Regions from separate parts of the Homo sapiens genome. Here region 1 is linked to region 2. The links are contacts of gene promoters, found by promoter capture Hi-C in blood cells and fetal thymus (Javierre and others, 2016). All regions are on one chromosome and are shown on one strand. Each heading gives the region's core, a stretch centred on a gene start or on the middle of the fragment in contact. The rest is flanking DNA. Distances are from core to core; before and after follow the strand shown.

Evidence for each region. Contacts are between HindIII fragments. The CHiCAGO score rates a contact against its expected background, and 5 or more counts as called.
Region 1: a contact is called between a fragment that was not itself captured here and the fragment with the promoter of GLIPR1 in region 2, in 1 of 17 cell types (total B cells). The highest score is 5.2, in total B cells.

Annotation. Positions count from the first base shown.
Region 1 is chr12:75,435,892-75,438,788 of GRCh38, reverse strand. No RefSeq gene overlaps it. Among named protein-coding and RNA genes, the nearest start is that of GLIPR1, 43 kb to the left of the region's middle. The HindIII fragment of the contact is 586 bases long and covers 1,114-1,699 here.
Region 2 is chr12:75,479,284-75,482,387 of GRCh38, reverse strand. It overlaps GLIPR1 (GLI pathogenesis related 1), which reads right to left and starts at 1,633. Exons shown (of 6, transcript NM_006851.3): 1 at 1,334-1,633; 2 at 309-554. The coding sequence starts at 1,507. The HindIII fragment of the contact is 5,495 bases long and covers 1-3,104 here.

The sequences.
Region 1 (2,897 bases), core at 157-2,656, 43 kb after region 2:
AAGTTCCAGCATAGAGGCAGTACAGTTGGCCCTCCATATCTGCAGGTGCTGTGTCTGTGGATACAGCCAACTGCAGATCAAAAATCCCACCCTCACCCACACCAAAGGGAGAGAGTGCCAAAGCACCCTTTGGGACAAAGGAAACCAGACTGTGCACTCTCATCTGCCTGAGAGCTCCCTGCTTGTGAGAAGACGATGATTGTGCCCCTCCCAGCGGAGAAATGGGTGTGGTGTTGGGCTCTGTAGGGGAGGAGGGTGGTTCCACCACAGCAGCCAGGCAGTACCAGTGCCTGGAACGGATGTGGAAATAAGGTCTCCTCCACCCCTCATCTACTGCTGTGGATGTCCCTGCTGGGAATTGACACAGTAGCAGCTGTCCCTGCTGGGAATTGGCACAACAGCACCTGGGGAGAACATTTCTAGGGCTATTGAGGGTTAATTCACCCCCACAGATGGTGTGCCTACTGGCCTAAGCTTGCACAAAGGGTGGGGCCCATCCCAATGTGGAGCATTCGCATTCCTATGGCAGAGTGCAAGTGAGTTGCAGAGCTGTCTGTTAAGGTTTGAGGGAAGAGGTTCTGCCCCAAGGCCATTTCAGGAGTAGCCATGGAATGGGAATGTTTCTTGACCTCAGCTGAATTGTGGGCTGAGGATAAGGACAATATCTATTTGAACCAAATAACAAAAGCCCCTGGACAGGTGTGTGATAGGGAAGCAGACTGTCTTCTTGTTTAGTGCAGCCTCCTTTATCCCCCCATAGTGGAGACCTCAGGACCCTGAGCCCCTCTCTGCCCCCCTGCCCCATCAGGGTGGGTGCTTCCACTAGTAACTGGGGTATTCAAAGACGAGTTTGGAAGTCCAGCTCTGCCCAAATTTGTCCCTTGCTCTGGGCTGAGTGAGGAACTCAGGGCATTGAGTAGTCCACAGACCAGCCAACTGCCTGTGACAACAGAAATCCCCTCCCAGTGAACAAAGAAAAAGAACATAGGCATCAACCTCTGTGGTAGCCAGCTTTTACCCATAAGCACCACCTACTGGACTGGAAATTGAAGTGCCCAACCAAATATAAAACCTGCTGACTGAAGAGCACAGTGCTAGGGAATGAGATAAGCTTCCTGAGGCCTCTGCACTCTCAGCCCGGCAGAAGGTAGTGAGCCTGCTTATATACCCAATACATTGCTACTACAATCAGCATTTAAGAAAGCCACCACACAAAAGCTATCTATAACTAAGGAACTCATACAGAACCTTGGCTCACTGAAAGCACCCAGAATCAAAGCCAAATGATTATACACAATATACATTACTACAGTCACACCCTCGAGGGAAAAAAAGTGTCATTCAAAAGAAAGTAAATTCAAAAATAAAAAATGATAGCTTCCTCAGATGAGAAGGAATCAGCGTAAGAATTCCAACAGTATAAAAAACCAGTGTTTCAACACTCCCAAAGGATCATACTAGCTCTCTAGCAATGGATCTTAATCAAAATGAAAATTCTAAAATGACAGATAAAGAATTTAAAATATGTATTGTAAGGAAGCTCAATGAGGTCCAAGATAAAGTTGAAAACCAACACGAAATCAGAAAAAAACTCAGAATATGAATAAACAATTACTAAAGAAATACATATTAAAAAGCAAACTGAACTTCTGGAAATAAAAAAAATTATTGAAGGAGTTACAAAATACAACTGAAAGCTTTAACAATAGACTGGAACAAGCATAAGAAAGACTTTTAGAGCTCGAAGACCAATCCTTTGATTTAACCTAGGCAGACAAAAATTTAAAAAATAAAATAAAATAAATAAACAAAGCCTTCAAGAAATATGGGATTATGTAAAGTGACCAAACCTATGAGTTATAGGCAATCTTAAGCAAGAAGAAGAAGAAGTAAAAAGCTTGGAAAACCTATCCAAGGGAACAATTTGGGAAACCGTCCCTAGTCTTGCTAGAGAATTAGGCATTCAGATACAAGAAGCAAAGAGAATCCCTAGAAGATACTCTACAAGATATACCTCATCAAGGTATATAGTCTTCAGACTATTCAAGTCAATGTGAAGGAAAAAATCCTAAAAGCAGCAGGAGAGAAACATATAATAACTTATAAAGGAAATCCCATCAGACTAACAGCAGACTTCTCAGCATAAACCTTACAAGTCAGAGGACATTGGGGTTCCATTTTTAATCTTCTTAAAGAAAGGAACTGCCAGCCAAGAATTCTGTATCCTCCTAAGCCAAGTTTCATAAATGAAGGATAAATGAAGTAGTTCTCAGACATGCAAATGCTAAGGGAATTTGTTAACACTAGCCTGGCCCTAAAAGAAATTCTCACAGAAATTCTAAACATAGAAACAAAAGGATAATATTTGCCATTATAAAAGAACACAAAAGAAAACTCATGGGTCTTATAAAGCAATTATAAGACTAGAAAGCAACTAGGTAACAATTAACATTATGACAAGAATAAAACCTCACATATCAATATTAATCTTGAATGTCAATGAACTGAATGCTCCACTTTAAAAATTTAGACTGGTGAATTGAATAAAAAGACAAATTCAACCATATGCTGCTTACAAGAATGCCACCTAATGAGTAAAGACTCAAAGTACAGGGGTGAGAAAAATATCCCATGCAAATGGAAACCAAAAGTGAGCAGGAGTAGCTATACTTATATCAGATAAAATAGACTTTAAATCAACAACAGTAAAAAAAAAAAAAAAAAAAAAAAGACAAAGAAGATCATTATATAATGATAAAGGGATCAATTCAATAAGGAGATATAACAACCTTAAGTATATATGTACCCCAAACTGGAGCACCCAGATTCATAAAACTAATATTCCTAGATGTAAGAAAAGAGATCAACAGCAATAAAATAATAGTGGTGAGGCCGGG
Region 2 (3,104 bases), core at 384-2,883:
GAAAATCCTTTCACTCATAAGGTTCTTTGATTTCTCACAAATGGAATAAAGTCCTATGGGAGAATAGCTGTTACAGGAATTGTTCAAAGCCTGTCCAAGTTGGTGGGCCTCACATATTACCTATTATGTGTTTAGTTCACACAACTAAACTTTTCAAGCATTATTTTCTGTTCTTGGAGGCTGTTCTATTTAACTCCCTTATATTTACAGGTATACTAGCATACTATACATTTTCTTAACTTCATAGTACAATTTTTCTCCTCATACTTGAAAAGACAGTTTCAAGATAATATAGGGCAGATCCTTACCTGAGTGTAGTGGCCACAGACTTTTTTGCATATCCGAGTCTTGAAGTCATAGTCCTGGATTTCGTCATACCAGTTTGTGATGGCGGAAGACACAGAAAAAATGGGCACAGACCCAGTCCAGATGTTCTCTCCCAGTGAAGTGAAGTTTGGGTGCAGCTTGTGGGGTGGCTTCAGCCGTGTATTATGTGAAAACTGGCAATTGCTGGCCCATGCTTTTGCAATTTGGGCTAGTGCTGGGTCCCAAGTCTGCAAAAATAAACATTAAACAATAGGGGGTTCATCTGAAATGTAACTGGGGTGAGTACAGTGGGAATTTGAATGGAAAACGAGGTGAGATAAGGAGAGAAGATACCACTGCATATGAGTCCTCTATAAATATGGTCTTCAAGCACTGAGTAGGGCTGGTAGGAAACGTGACAATTTAGTTTCATGGAATTTAGAATCTAAGTGAGGAAAACTGACATTTCACTGAAGGCTAATTGTGGGCAAAATAGTGTGTGCCGTGTTTCACAACATTATTCCATAACCACAACAGCCCATATCCTAAGAAGTTCAGAAAGGTTAAAAACCAGCTTAAAGCCACAGATCTGAAATTCAATCCCAAGCCTTACTGAATCAAAATCCCATCCTTTCCCCAGATGCCATTCTGCCTACCTGAGCAACTCAGTACTTTGTCAGCAGCAAAAAAAGTAAATTTAGAGACAAAAAAAAAAAAAAAAAAAGAAAACCAAATCACAAAAATTAACAGGGAGGAAGATAACAAAAAGAGAAGTAAAATCCACTGAAAACCAGAAAACAGGAAGTGTCCAAAGAGAAGTAAAATGTGCTGTGGCACTTGCTTATAACAACAGTTGGGTAGACAGAGCTAAACTGGATGTGTTTTGATCACAGACTGTGAATTTACTGCATACATTAATCACAATGAAAAAAAAATCATTCAGTATTACGAAGGTATTAACACCAAAGTCAATACACATTAGTTGTTTCTGACTGACTGACGCCACAATTAATGATATTTTCCTTACCATGTATAGCATATCACTGGCTGTTGGTTTCACCTCTGATCGGAACTTGTTATGGATTCGAACGCAGTCTTTGATGAAATCTTCATTTTCGATATCTGGCAAAATATTTGCTGTGTGTGAATAATTGGAGACAAAAGAAACCATCCAGGCTATTGTAGCAAGTGTGACACGCATGCTTTGTCTGGCATGGAGCCTTGGGAGGCTGCAGTCCAGAGCCGCCGCAGTTTCTGAGAGTGTGATTGCCTGAGTGCTCAGCCCACAGCTTTGCAAACCTAGCCGACTTCAGCTTTGAGAAAACAGAACAGAGCATGAGTTCATCACTAGTTTTAAGAAACGGGTTTCTCCATATATGGTGTGCAGCTCACTTTGTGTTCTTAACCCTGTCTTTTCAGTGGTTTTCAGTGACACAGCACCTATTACGACATAGATTTTTATGAGGCTGTGTCAGACTTCCTTTTGAATTGGGAGATATTTCCAAAGAAAATTCTGAAGTCTCCAGGAATAATAGTCTCCAATTTTTAATGGAGGTTGCGGTGATAAAATGAAAATATCTCTTACTTCTATAAATGCCTCGCAAAATGCTTTCAGAAATCTTTTTCTTTTTAGAGTCATATCAACACATAGTGGTTGGAATATCTGGTTAACATCATAAACTTGACCTAGAATTCATTCACGATGGTAGAAACATGTAAGCGTGTATGTGTGTGTGTGTGTGTGTGTGTGAGAGAGAGAGAGGGAGAGAAAGAGAGAGAGAGAGAAAGAGAGAGAGGGATTGAGAGGGAGAATAGTAGAAAGAATACAGGACTCAAGTTGAGAATTTAGTTTCTGTTTCTAACTAGCTGTAAGACCTTGGACAGGATACAAAACTCTCTAAACCTCAGCCACCTATTGAATGAGACTATGGGACCTTTTCTGCTTCCTTAATTACAGAGGTTTGGCAGGATCAAATGAACTAGCTAATATTAAATTCCTGCCTTGTATATTCACCTTAGTAATACAGAAATAAAAACACAGTCACTGGCCCCAAGGAGCTTACAGTGGTAAGAGCTGTGAGATGGTGATGACAAGGATGTTACAACAGGGGCTGTTGGAGATCTGGATATAGGAAAGCACAGGTAGATATGGACACACAAGAGAGCATACTTAACCCATTCTGGAAACGGCAGAGCCGGCCTACATACAGCAGGTGAGGTCTTTGCTGAGGCTAGAATCAGCTAGGTGTTGATCAAGTGAAAAAGCGCTGGAGAGGAGAAGGGAATTAGAGGGATAGGAACTATATATCTAGTTGTGAAATTGAAGACATGGTGTTATGGCAAGAATAGAGCAAGAACCTCTCCATATTGTCTCCCTCTGTAAATATGGTCTGTAAATAAGTAGTGATTCTGACTGGTAGAAAACTTGATACCTGGTGTCATGGAATTCAGAATCCAAATGATGCTTTCATGCCACTTGGGGGAGAGAAGTTAAGAGTCAGATCAGGAAGGATTTCTCAATTCTGCTAATGATTTTTTATTTTATCACCAAAGTCATGGGAAGTTATTGGAGGATTTTAGCTGTAGGTGGGGTTTAGACCTGGTTTTAGAAAACACGTGTATTTTAGAAAATTAAGAGAGATGGAAAATGGAATGAGGTGGGGAAATATTTCTAATGCAAACAAAAAGTAAAGAAACATTCCAGGCACACCTGTAGCCCCACCTACTCAGAAAGTTGAGGTGGGAGGATAGCTTGATCCCCACAATTTGAGGCTGTGAAGAGCTATAGTCAGGTCACT